Linked DNA regions of Homo sapiens: all the other regions are linked to region 2. The links are contacts of gene promoters, found by promoter capture Hi-C in blood cells and fetal thymus (Javierre and others, 2016). All regions are on one chromosome and are shown on one strand. The core of a region is centred on a gene start or on the middle of the fragment in contact, and the rest is flanking DNA. Distances in the headings are between cores, read along the strand shown. Region 1 overlaps ARHGEF9 (Cdc42 guanine nucleotide exchange factor 9). Region 2 holds the start of SPIN4 (spindlin family member 4). Region 3 overlaps ARHGEF9 (Cdc42 guanine nucleotide exchange factor 9).

Region 1 (4,304 bases), core at 1,107-3,606, 340 kb before region 2:
AACAGAAGTGCACCTGCTTTTTGTATGTTGATTTTGTATCCTGCAACTTTACTGAATTTGTTGATCATTTCCAGCATTTCGTGTGTGTAGGTAGTCTTTAGGTTTTTCTAAATATAAGATTATATCATCTGCTAACAAGGATAATTTGATTTCTTCCTTTTCAATATGGATACCCTTTATTTCATTCTCTTGCCTAAATTGCTCTGGCTAGAACATGCAGTACTACACTGAACATAAGTGGTAAAAGTGGGCATTCTTGTCTTGGTCTAGATCTTGGAGGAAAGGCTTTTGATTTTTTTCCTGTTCAGTATGATGATAGCTGTGGGTTTGTGATATATGGCTTTTATTATTTTGATGCATGTTCCTTCTGTACCCAGTTTGTTGTCTTTTTCTCATGGAGGGATCTTGAATTTTATGAAATGCTTTTTCAGCATCTATTGAAGTGATCATACAGGTTTTGTCCTTGGTTCTGTTAATGTAATGTATCACGTTTATTTATTTGCATATGTTGAACCAAACTTTTGTCCCTGGGATGAGACCCACTTGATCATCGTGAGTGATCTTTTTAATGTGTTGTTTAATTCAGTTTGCTAGTATTTTGTTTGGAATTTTTGCATCTATGTTTGCCAGTAATATTGGCCTGTAGTTTTCTTTTTTTGATGTGTTTTTGTCTGGTTTGGGTACCAGGGTAATGCTGGCCTCATAGAATGAGTTTGAAGTATTCCTCCTCTTTACTTTTTTGAAATAATTTGCATAGAATTATTATCAGTTCTTTTTTAAATGTTTGGTGGAATTCAGCAGTGAAACCGTAAGGTCCTTGGCTTTTCTTTGATGAGACACTTTTTATTACTGTTTTGATCTTGTTACTTGTTATTGGTTTGTTCAGGTTTTCTATTTATTCATGGTTCAATCTTGGTACGTCATATGTATCCAGGAATTTATCCATTTCTTCTAGGTTTTCCAATTTGTTTGCCTGTAGTTGTTCATATTCTCTGTAATGATCCTTTGTATTTTTGTGGTATCAGTTATATTCTCCCTTTTCACCTCTGATTTCATTTATTTGAGTATTCTTTTTTTCTTAGTCTAGCTAAAGATTTGTTGATTTTGAGTATCTTTTCAAAAAAAACAACTTTTCATTTCATTGATCTTTTGTATTTTTCAGCCTTAATTTCATTTATTTCTGCTCTGGTGTTTGTTATTTATTTCCTTCTACTAGCTTTGGGTTTGGTTTGTTCTTGCCTTCCTAATTCTTTGAAGTGACTTGGTAGATTATTTATTTGAAGACTTTCTTTTTCTTTTTTGATGAAAGCTTTTATTGCCATAAATTTTCCTCTTTGTACTGCTTTTGCTTTATTTCATAGGCTTTAGTATCTTGTGTTTTCATTTTCATTTGTTTTGAGAAATTTCTATTTTTTAAAAGAATTTTGTTATTTACCCACTGATCATTCAGGAGCAATGTATTTAATTTCGGTGTATTTGTACAGTTTCTTAAGTGCTCTTCTTACTGATTTCTAGTGTTGTTTCATTGTGGTCAGAAAAGACACTTGATATTAATTTGACTTTTTAAAATTTGTTGAGATTTGTTTATGGCCTAACATATGGCCTGTTTTCAAGAATGTTCTATATGCTGATGAGGAAAATGTGTAGTCTCCAGCAGTTGGATGATATGTTCTGTTATTTTCAGTTACGTACATTTGGTCTATAGTACAACTGAAATCCAGTATTTCTTTGTTGATATCTTGTCTGGATAATCTGTTCATTGCTGAAAGTGAGTGTTGAAGTTCCCTATTATTATGGTGTTGTAGTCTGTCTCTCTGTTTAAATCTACTAATATTTGTTGTGTATATTTGGGTGCTCCAGTGTTGGGTGCATGCGAATTTATAATTGTTATATCCTGTAGCTGAATTGACCCATTTATTATTATATAATGACATTCTTTGTCTTTTCTTACAGTTTTTGACCTGAAGTCTGTTTCGTATGATATATGTGTAGCCACTGCTGCTCTTTTGTGGTTTCTATTTGTACGCAGTATCTTTTTCCATCCCTTCACTTTTAGTCTCTATGTGTCTTATTCACTAGAAATTCACTTAAAGAAGTGAACTTCTTGAAGGCAGCATATAGTTGGATGCTGTTTTTTTTAATCCATTCAGCCACTCTCTTTTAATTGGAGAATTTAGTCCCATTTACATTCAATGTTATTTTTGAAAGGTAAGGACTTACTACTGCCATTTTGTTATTATTTTCTGATTGTTTTGTAACTCCTGTCTTCCATTATTTTACTACTATCTTCCTTTGTTGTTTAGTGATTTTTCTCTGGTGGCATGTATTAATTATTTGCTTTTGTTAGTGTATCTTTTACAGGTTTTTGCTTTGATGTTACTGTGGGGCTTAGAACATCTTATTATAAACTGATGACAACTTAACTTTGATCAAAAGAAAAATTAAAAACTAAAATCTCTAAAATTTAAGTCCATTACTTCCCCATTTTAACTTTTTGTTTTCTCAGTTTACATCTTTTTATATTGCCTATCCCTTAATAAATTGCCTTTTTGTTTTGTTTTGTTTTTGAGATGGAGTCTTGCTCTGTCTCCCAGGCTGGAGTGCAGTGGCACGATCTCGGCTCACTGCAACCTCTGCCTCCCGAGTTCAAGCGATTCTCCTATCTCAGCTTCCTGAGTAGGTGGGATTATAGGCACGTGCCATCACACTCAGCTAATTTTTGTATTTTTTAGTACAGATGGAGTTTCACCATGTTGGCCAGGCTGACCTTAATAAATTGTCATTATTTTTGATAGATTTTTTTCAGTCTTCATACTAAAGTTGTGAACGGTTTACACACCACAATTCAGTATTTGTCTGCATAGTTTATTCTGAATTTGTCTATATACGTTTACCAGTTTATTTTATAACTTCAGGTGTTTTCTTGATACATATTAGTGTTCTTTTAAGATTGAACAACTGGCTTCAGCAGTTCATGTAAGACAAATCTTCTGTTGATGAATTCCCTCAGCTTCTGTCTGGGAAAGTCTGTATCTCTCCTTCATGTTTGAAGGATGGCTCTGCTGGGCACAGTATGGGAGGTTTTTTTGTTGTTGTTGTTTTGTTTTTTTCATTCAGTACTTTGAATATGTTGCCCCCCTCCCTCCTGCCCTGTAGGACTTACACTGAAAACTCTGTTACCACAGGAATTGAAACTCCTTTATATGTTATTTGCTTCTTTTCTCTTGCTGCTTTTAAGATTTCCCTCTTTGTCTGTTAACCTTTGAGAGTTTGATTATTATATGCCTTAGGGTAATCTTATTTAGATTGAACATGTTTGGTTGTCTTTAACCCTGTACCTGGATATTTATATCTTTCTCTAGGTTTGGAAAAGTCTCTGTTATTATTACTTTGAATAAGCTTTCTACCTTTTGTTCTTTCTCAACATCCTCTTTAAAGCCAATGACCCTTTGACTTGCTCTTTTGAGGCTATCCCCTAGATCTTGTTGGCGTTCTTCATTTTTCTCATTATTTTTTCTCTTCTTATTGTGTATTTTCAAATAGTCTTAGGGCTCACCGGTTCTTTCTTCTGCTTGATCAATTCTGTTGTTGAGACCATCCCATGTATTTTTCAGTTTGACTATTGTATTTCTTAGCTCTAGGATTTCTGTTTAATTTTTTAAAATTTCAATTTCATTGTTAAATTTCTGTAATACATTTCTGAATTGCTTTTCTGTGTTACATTGGCATTTTCTGAGTTTCCTGAAAATTGCTATTCTGCATTCTTGATCTGAGAGCTCACACAACATCATCTCATTAGGGTCAGTCACTGGCTCCTTATTTTGTCTATTTGGGAATGTCATGGTTTCCTGTTTGCTCTTTCTATGGATATATGTCTGTGCATTTGCATTGAAGGATTAGTTCTTTATTCCAGTCTTCACTGTCTGGCTTGGTTTGGTCTTTCAGAAGTATGTCTGTCTAGAGGTTTTGTGCAGAGTGACTATTTAGTTCCCTTAGCCTGAGATCACTGCCTCCTTTTCAACACTAGATGGCACCCTGAACCCAGATTTGACATAGTCTTTCTCAATTTCAGAGTGCTACTCATCCTGGATGGGGAGGAATCCCAAAGATACCCCAGCTCTGTGGGAAAGCTGGATGGAGGTTTGTTCCCAGAGGACTGATGAAGTGTGCTTCCTGCAACGTGATGCTGTTAAACAGCCTTTCTGATTTGGTGTCTTTTTTGAGGTCAGATGAAGGGAAGCTGGAGTTTCATGCACTGGGTGTTGCTAACCCCACCCCCACCCTCTAACTCTAGCTGCCTTTGG
Region 2 (4,003 bases), core at 1,367-3,866:
CAGAAGCTTCCAGTATTTGAAATATTGCTCTGAAATTGGATATAAGGAACAAATCATGCCATAGCCCTCCTTGATTCACAAGCCCTGGCCAAGAGGTCTTGAGTGTAAAACAGAGGAAAGGTTTAGAGGTGGGGTATGAGCTGGGTGGTTTGTAAAAAGATGTAATAAGACAAAATAACTTCTTTCAGGAGATGACTAGTTAGGAGACAACTGAGTACTTACTATGTACCAGTTCATGTGCTGAGAGATTTGTGTGTATTTATCTAATTTAATCCTCACACTTACACTTTGAGGTAAGTTTTATTGTTATCCACACATGTAGGTTGATGAAAGCTTGCCCCCGCCCCACTTGCTTTAATGTTTTCTCCTAAGCATTTTCAGACTTATGGGCACATGTATTCACAGGGTCAGTGATTTAGGTGTTTTAAAAGGATAAAATTGCTGAGGGAGAGCCTGAGTTGCCAGAACTGTAGTCGTCAAAAGCTTGTGTAAGGCTACTTGTTTCACTGTGGAAGATGTCTTTGCATTGGGGCAGGGCAGCTGAAAGCAATTATTTATTCATTTAACAAATGTTTATTGAGTCTCTATTCTGTGTAGGGTATTTGGGATGCAAGATAAAAATCCCTTCTTGAATAAGTTTATTGTCCAGTGGGAGTCATACAAAGTGAACATTATATCAGCATGATAAGGCCTTTTAAATCTATATGTTAGTGAATGGTCTGAATATTAGAATCATAATTTTGGAGAAGAAAGGGTATTCGAATTTTTTTTTGTCTCTTCAGGCCACTTTGTGGGGTTGTAAGCAAGAATTCCCTTGAAGGATGTAACCAAAGGCCTGAGGAAACTGTTTTCCCTGCATTTGTGTGCCCTGTGGGTCATCTTCTTCTTTCATGTGTCAACTGCTCTTCTGAGCAAAAAGTGCTTGGTGTATCTTGGTCTGGGGAATTATTTGGAAGACATTATTTGTGGAACATAATGGCATAACATTTACATACGTTCACCTTCTGACTTTGAGTATGAATGTGTAGGTTGTGTATATGTGTGAATATATATACACCACGATGTCATTCTAAGTGTTTGGAAATAACTGTTCATACATGTAGTTTACCTTCTTCCTTGGAATTACTATCTTGTAATATGGCATTAAAGAATTATCCCATCTCTGAAGTCCTTTGCCTGGGAAACATGGTGAACTGGAGGATCCTTACACATTCTGTGTGACCAGCTATTAAACAGAATGAGGACTAGGTCTCTCTGTCACTGACTTGGAAGGTAATGAAATGTTCAGGCAACCAGTATTGACACCTTGCAGCTTTTGCCCCGGTTTTGTTTCCAGGTGAATTAATTGCCTTTTTTACTCATGATTATATGACGCTTTCTCTTTTCACCAGTGAAGAGTAGAGGAATGAAAATGAGAACCCTAGACTCTTCTGGATTTTAATGTCATCTTGTAAGTGGGATATAGTGTTAAAAGCTTTACAGACATTCTCATTTAATCCTCATAGCAGCTCTGTGACTTAAGGTAAGTGAAATTATGGACACTTTCTTTTCTTGCAGGTTTTCGATATAAGCATGCAGCACTTTTATAATCAGAAAAACAGCAAATATATACACAAAAAATCCCTTCTTTCTCTCTCTACAAAATTAAGACCACAATATTGTTTCAATATTTTGCTTTTTCATTGTACTCATCTCATGTGCAGCTCTCCATGTCATTAAATCTTCTTTTAAAAAATGGTTTAGACAATAAATCCATTTATGAAGGTAAAATGTTTTTATTTATACTTATGTTATAGATCATGTAGGATAAATAGTGGACTATCAAAAGGAATATTACAAATATTTAATATTACTATTAAAAATCATGTTTTCAGAGTATTTAACAATCTTGGAAAATGTTCATGATATACATGAAAAACACAAGTTATAAAAGTATGAAATATGCTCCCAATTTTATAAAATATAAGTACAGGTTTATTAATAGGAGAGAAAACAGTATTGTTAACATTTTGGTGCAGTCTGGATGGTAAAATTAATGGTAGTTTCGTCTTTTATTTCACTGAATTTTAGAAGATCTCCACAATGTCAGTACATGACCTTTACATTCTGACAAAAAAAAAAAAAATAAAAATAATTACTAGAAATGATCAGGTAGAAAATATAAAACAGATTTTGGATTAAGATGGTGGTCTGTAAATTGTACACAGGGTTTTTATTCTCATCTTAAATATCTTAAACTGAAAGAAAATAATTTGTATGCACAAACTCTTTCTGGGTGTGCGTGTGTTTTACATTTTTTTTTTTTTTAAGTGAGGAATTCCTGGAAGACAGAAAGCAGATGGAGCCACTGTGTAGGAGGCTGGCGGGCAGCAGACCGCCAGAAAGGAGGAGGAGGGGAGTCGGCCTGTCTGGCTGGCGTTTGAGGGAAACGGTCGAGGGGCGGAGGAGGAAATGAAAGAGAGGGCGCGTGTGTCAATACAAACTGAACACGGGCACGCGCGCTGACCAGCCCGGCTGCCGCCCGCAGAGCGGAAGGCGGGATGGCTGGGGGCGGGGCCAAGGCTCAGGCGGGCTCAGAGGGGGCGGGTTCCCTGCGCCGCAAAGACCCGGTCGCCAGAGTGAAGCCAAGCCAGCTAGCGCTGCGAAGCCCAGGCCGCGCGGACTCCCCAGAGACTTGCCGCCGCCTGCGCCTTTGCCGCTGCAGCCATCCCTCTTACTCCTTGCCTTTCGTCCCCGTCGTCTCCTCTGCCGCCGTGCCGCAGCCGCACCAGCATCGACAACAGCTAAGTGGCCGATTCGGGGACTTGGGGTCGGGGTTGGGGCGGACGCAAGGCACGAACAGCACTCGCGAGCCCGCCATCTCTACGTCAGCCGCCACTGCTGCAGTAACCCTTCTAGGGCGAGAGAGGAAAGCACTGTGGAGAGGCACACGCTGTCCCAGTGCTCACGGTTAGAGTTCGAGCGTTTCTGCCAAAACCTTGGTGAGAGCCTTGCACTTGGAGAAGGGAGCACAGACCAGGTCTTTGAGATCGCAAAAAATATATATATCATATTGCATAGTGTTGACTTTTTGTCAGTTTAATCGACCAGGGCAGCAGCTTTCCCCAAGCCCTCTTAATCCCTGAGCTATGTCTCCTCCAACCGTGCCTCCGATGGGGGTAGATGGCGTGTCCGCATACCTGATGAAGAAAAGGCACACCCACAGGAAGCAACGGCGCAAGCCCACTTTCCTCACTCGTAGGAACATCGTGGGCTGCCGCATTCAACACGGCTGGAAGGAAGGCAACGAGCCAGTGGAGCAGTGGAAGGGTACTGTGCTCGAGCAGGTTTCCGTGAAGCCCACTCTTTACATCATTAAATATGATGGCAAAGATAGTGTGTATGGACTAGAACTGCACCGCGATAAGAGAGTTTTAGCGCTAGAGATCCTTCCTGAGAGAGTGCCAACTCCTCGTATCGATTCACGACTGGCAGATTCCCTGATTGGCAAGGCAGTGGAGCATGTGTTTGAAGGTGAACATGGTACCAAGGATGAATGGAAGGGTATGGTCCTGGCGCGAGCTCCTGTGATGGATACTTGGTTTTACATCACCTACGAGAAAGATCCTGTTCTCTATATGTACACGCTGCTTGATGACTACAAAGATGGTGACTTACGCATTATTCCAGATTCCAACTACTATTTCCCTACAGCAGAACAGGAGCCTGGAGAGGTGGTCGACAGTCTCGTGGGCAAGCAGGTGGAGCATGCCAAAGATGACGGGTCCAAGAGAACTGGCATTTTTATACATCAAGTGGTGGCGAAGCCATCTGTTTACTTCATTAAGTTTGATGATGATATTCACATTTATGTCTATGGTTTGGTGAAAACTCCTTAAATTCTTTGTGCTCTTTAGAGAAGTTGTGGATCTGTTAGATGTGAATTATTTTGTGTTCTCGTAGTTGTGAACGCAGAGAAGAGTTTAGGTGTCAGAAATTCAGGAAAGTGGATAAATTTTATTGT
Region 3 (4,170 bases), core at 1,599-4,098, 410 kb before region 2:
GGAAGAACTTTCTACCATCTGAGATTGTCCCAAAGATGAAGGGGCTGTCTTGGGAGGGAGGAACTGCCCCATCATTATAGGTGTTGGAGCTGAGACCGGATAACCAATTAGTGGGGATGTTGCAGAAGGGATGGCAGGATGGAACTGGAGTTGTGCTAGACCAAGAGATTATCTAATTCCTTGAGACTTGTCAGCAAGAAGGAATAGATCTCGGGAGGGGTATTGCTACTCCAAATGTAGAGGACTCCATTAAAAAAAATTGTGAGCAAAGTTGATTGGTCACATAACTCAGAAAGCTACCCACACATGGACAGGGCTGGTATCAAATACCGTGTTCCAGGGTCTGAAATCTCTCAAAAGTACTTTTGAGACTTAAGATACAAGGGCTTTGGTTCCCACTCTGCCAGCAATTAGCTGTATAATCTTTGACAAGTTGCTTCCCTTCTCTGTGAACCTGGAATATAAGGGCTTAGATTTTTCTCTGTGGTTCCATCAGGTCCTGCCTTCTGTGGTTGGAAGATATGAGTCTTTGAGTGGAGACCAGTGGATGAAGGAGACATTCATGCATCCAATAGGTGTTTGTTATGAAGCACCTGCTAAGTGTCAGACACTGCGCTGGGCACAAAGGGAGAAAGCAGTGAACAAGACAGTCGTGGTCTCTGCCCTCCTAGCTTCACAGTCCAGTAAAGGATACAAACAAGAAAAAAATACAATACAGTTTAATAAATGTTTCAAGAGGGCTAAACGTAGGATCCTATGGGAGAGGACTATCATTCAGAATATTGTTGAGGAAGAGAACATTAGAGAAAGCCTTCTGGAGGTGGTGGCACCTCAGCTGAGCTTTGAAATGGGGAGCTGGAAAAATAAAGCAGCAGTTTATATAGGCCCTGAGGCAAGAGAACCTCATGAGTTATGAGAACTACTGTAGGTTCTATGTAGCTAGAGAACAGAGAATGAGAGGGCACTGGTAAGAGCTGAGGATACAGAGGCCGAAGGACATCAGATTGGCAGGACATTTTATGCCACACTACAGAATTTGCCTTAAATGCGCCGAGGAGCTATTGAAGGCCTTTGAACAGAGGCATTATATAAGTCAGGTTTCAGCTGCAAAAATAAACCACTGTAGTTCTTTTCAGCAGAAGGAGTTTTAATATAGAAAATAAAGTGCTTACAAAATTGGTGGGAGGGCTGGAGGGGCAAGCTTTAGGCTATGCCTCCAAGAACAGTGTCAGGGTAGCTGCTCTCTCTGACAAGCAGGAAGATGAGGCGTCAGGGGCTCTAGGAGCATGCTGCCTTGTCTGCAATTTAGGAATGAGGAAGCTGCCACAGCTCTAACCATCTGTTGGCTAGAGTATCACTATGCCTACCAGATCCTCAGTGACAAAAAAAAAAAAAAAAAGTCCCATTCTCTGGCTCTCAGAATGCACAAAGCCAATGGCTAGACACTGGAACCTACGGTAACACACACAAAAAAACCCCAACACTTTCACCATTGTGCTTTCCAACAGAAGCAACAGAGACATGACTTCTGGCTCACCAACCACCTCCTTCTAAATACTGTGCATGTGCATATGATTGGCATCACTATGTCATATCCAGAACGCTGGCTGCAAAGGAATCTTGGAAATGCCAGTTTATTGTTGTTGTAGTTTTTTTGGTTTTTAGCTTTTCAGCAATATAGGAAGGCAGGCTAGAAGGAGTGGATCCTTAAAAACCAATCCAGAGTATCTACCCAAGATTGACAAGAGCAAAACTGCTTTTGAGGAAAGAATTTGGGCAGAAGAGTAGAGGCTTAATTGGGGAGGGAGAGCAGCATAAGATAACTGGTAATGAATTGTGATGGATCAGAGATGATGAGGAACTGATTAAAAGTAGTGACAGCAGGAAGAGAGAAAGGGACAAATGAGAGAGATTAAGGAGGAAGAGGATCAACAGAACTAAAAGACTTGTTGGCCACCAGTGAGGTGAGGGAGAGAAAAAACTTGTAGATATTTTCTTGGTTTCTGGCAAGCTCAGTGTGTGACTGCCATTCCCAGGAGACAAAGGACTCAGGGGAAGAAGGAAACCAGCAAGAGTGGGAGGAGATGACTTCAATTTGGGACTTTTTAAGTTTGATATGCTTGTGAGATACTAAGGAGGAGATATCCAGAAAGCAGTAGAACTTTCATTCTGGGGTCCAGGAGAGCTACCTTGGAGTCATCAGCAGCTCTCTGCTTACGTGCAAGCAAGGTCCTATGTCTGTTTTGTTTCCCAGTGGTGGTGTAATTTTGTAGAAAGGAGGTGCATCAATGTGCAATGTAGATGGTAGTTCAAGCCTTGGAAGTAGATGAGCCCATTCAGTGCAAATGCAGAATGAGAAGAAAAGGGGACTGCAATCAGAAGAACTCAGAAATCATGGCATTAATGACTGGATGAAGAAGAACCCATGCAGGAAGTGAAGACAGCATAAACATACAGGTCATGTGGATGGTGTTCCCAAGGAAAAGGAGCATTTCAGGATTGAGGAAGGCATCAGTGGAGTCAAATGGGAGAAAAGTTACGAAAGGTAAAGATTGAAAGTTGGCCATGAGATTTAGTAACAAGTTGGTTGTTTTTTTTCCTATTCACAAGAGGTTTCAGTTTTCTATAGGACAATGAGGGTAAAGCCAGGATGCAGTGGGTTGAGGGGTCAAAAGATAATGAGGAAATAGAGACAGGATAAGACTGAACTTTCAAAGACTAGGAGAAAGACTGTAGTTGTTTATATTATGGTACTGTCCTGATCACCAGTATCTGTCTCAACATAATCTAGAAGAGTAGTTTTCAAACCGTTTTGACTATTACTTGCTATAAGAAACACATTTCACATTACAGGCCAGTACATTTATATTTATATATAACTGAAACAAAAGCATCATGAAACAGTATTTACGCTAACTATATGAACATTTTCTATAAATGGAATCTTACAAAAGCCTTTTTCTCACGTCTTTCACTTAGCATGTTTTCAAAGCTCATCTATGTTGTAGCATGTATCAGTAGTTCATTCCTTTTTATGGTTAAATAATACTTCATTGTATGTATATACCACATTTTGTTTACCCATTCATCAGTTGTTGGACATTTGAATTGTTTCCATCTTCTGGCTATTGTGAATAATGCTGTTATAAGCATTCATGTATAAGTTTTTGTGTTGGCATGTTTTCATTTTTCTTAGGTATATACCTATCTGTTCAGTCATATAATCCTATAATATAAGAGCAAAAAGGCTCTGAGAGATCTCCTGTATAAGGGAATCCTTGGTTTGAAGGCCCAGGGAACCACTGAAATTGTTTTTTTCTGAGGTGAGTGTTCTGAGGTTTAACTGAATTCTCAGATAAGTCTAAGTCCTCATTGACAGGAGGGAGACAGAAGACAGACCCCTGAGAGGAAAAGGGAATTGCCCAAAAGTCATACAGCAAGTTTGAGGTAGGGCTGAGAGTAAATTTGAAACCTTCTGGTCTCCACTCCATGGCTTTTCCCTCCTTAGCTCTAGATACCAGGTCACAGAGCAGGGCAATGATTAGAAGCAGATTGCAAGTTCTGTAGAGGATTTTCCATGGCGAATGTTTAACCCTATGCTGGCTTCCCTTCATAGTACCCAGAATGCTGGAAAATTGCAAGCTAACTGTCCTAGTCTGAAGAATCTATAATCAAGAAAGGAAATCTGACCAGGTAAGGGCAGTGGTATCAGGGAAAGCCAAATAGAATTGGATTTTGGAAATTCTGTCGTGTGTCCCTGTGATTCTGTCCACAACACTGGTTTGTTGGCTTTTTATAGCTAATTGTGGGTTGCCTGTAAATTCTTAGGCAGTGGCCAAAAGCACCTTTGCTTCCTCCTTGGCCCAGGCTCCAAACAAAGTGGCTGCTAGGCACATGCATTCTCCACAGCTACCTATCCGTTTTTCCCCCATTCCTTCTTTCTCCTCACCATCCTTTTTTCTGCCTTTCCCCACAATTCTCTTTCTTCATTATCTTCCCTCTCTTCTCCTTCCTCCTCGTCTTTTCTTCTTTTTCTCCCTCTTCACGTGATCTCCTCCCCTTGCATCCTATTGGGTCCCTTCCCTCCCTCTTTCCCAGTCCTTTTCCTCCCCATCTCCTTATATACCCCCTCTATCCGCCCCCAAGAAGCTCCCCACCCCCAAACCAGAA

Evidence for each region. Contacts are between HindIII fragments. The CHiCAGO score rates a contact against its expected background, and 5 or more counts as called.
Region 1: a contact is called between a fragment that was not itself captured here and the fragment with the promoter of SPIN4 in region 2, in 1 of 17 cell types (M2 macrophages). The highest score is 6.1, in M2 macrophages.
Region 3: a contact is called between a fragment that was not itself captured here and the fragment with the promoter of SPIN4 in region 2, in 1 of 17 cell types (monocytes). The highest score is 6.2, in monocytes.

Annotation. Positions count from the first base shown.
Region 1 is chrX:63,687,033-63,691,336 of GRCh38, reverse strand. All of the region lies in intron 4 of ARHGEF9 (Cdc42 guanine nucleotide exchange factor 9), which reads left to right. Among named protein-coding and RNA genes, the nearest start is that of ARHGEF9-IT1, 18 kb to the right of the region's middle. The HindIII fragment of the contact is 2,090 bases long and covers 1,312-3,401 here.
Region 2 is chrX:63,349,945-63,353,947 of GRCh38, reverse strand. It overlaps SPIN4 (spindlin family member 4), which reads left to right and starts at 2,616. Exons shown (of 1, transcript NM_001012968.3): 1 at 2,616-4,003. The coding sequence starts at 3,129. The coding sequence ends at 3,878. It overlaps SPIN4-AS1 (SPIN4 antisense RNA 1), which reads right to left. Exons shown (of 3, transcript NR_046739.1): 3 at 1,760-2,106. RefSeq lists a silencer at 2,398-2,627 and enhancers at 2,828-2,877, 3,148-3,197, 3,298-3,427. The HindIII fragment of the contact is 10,204 bases long and covers 1,477-4,003 here.
Region 3 is chrX:63,755,357-63,759,526 of GRCh38, reverse strand. All of the region lies in intron 1 of ARHGEF9 (Cdc42 guanine nucleotide exchange factor 9), which reads left to right. Among named protein-coding and RNA genes, the nearest start is that of ARHGEF9, 28 kb to the left of the region's middle. The HindIII fragment of the contact is 3,289 bases long and covers 1,204-4,170 here.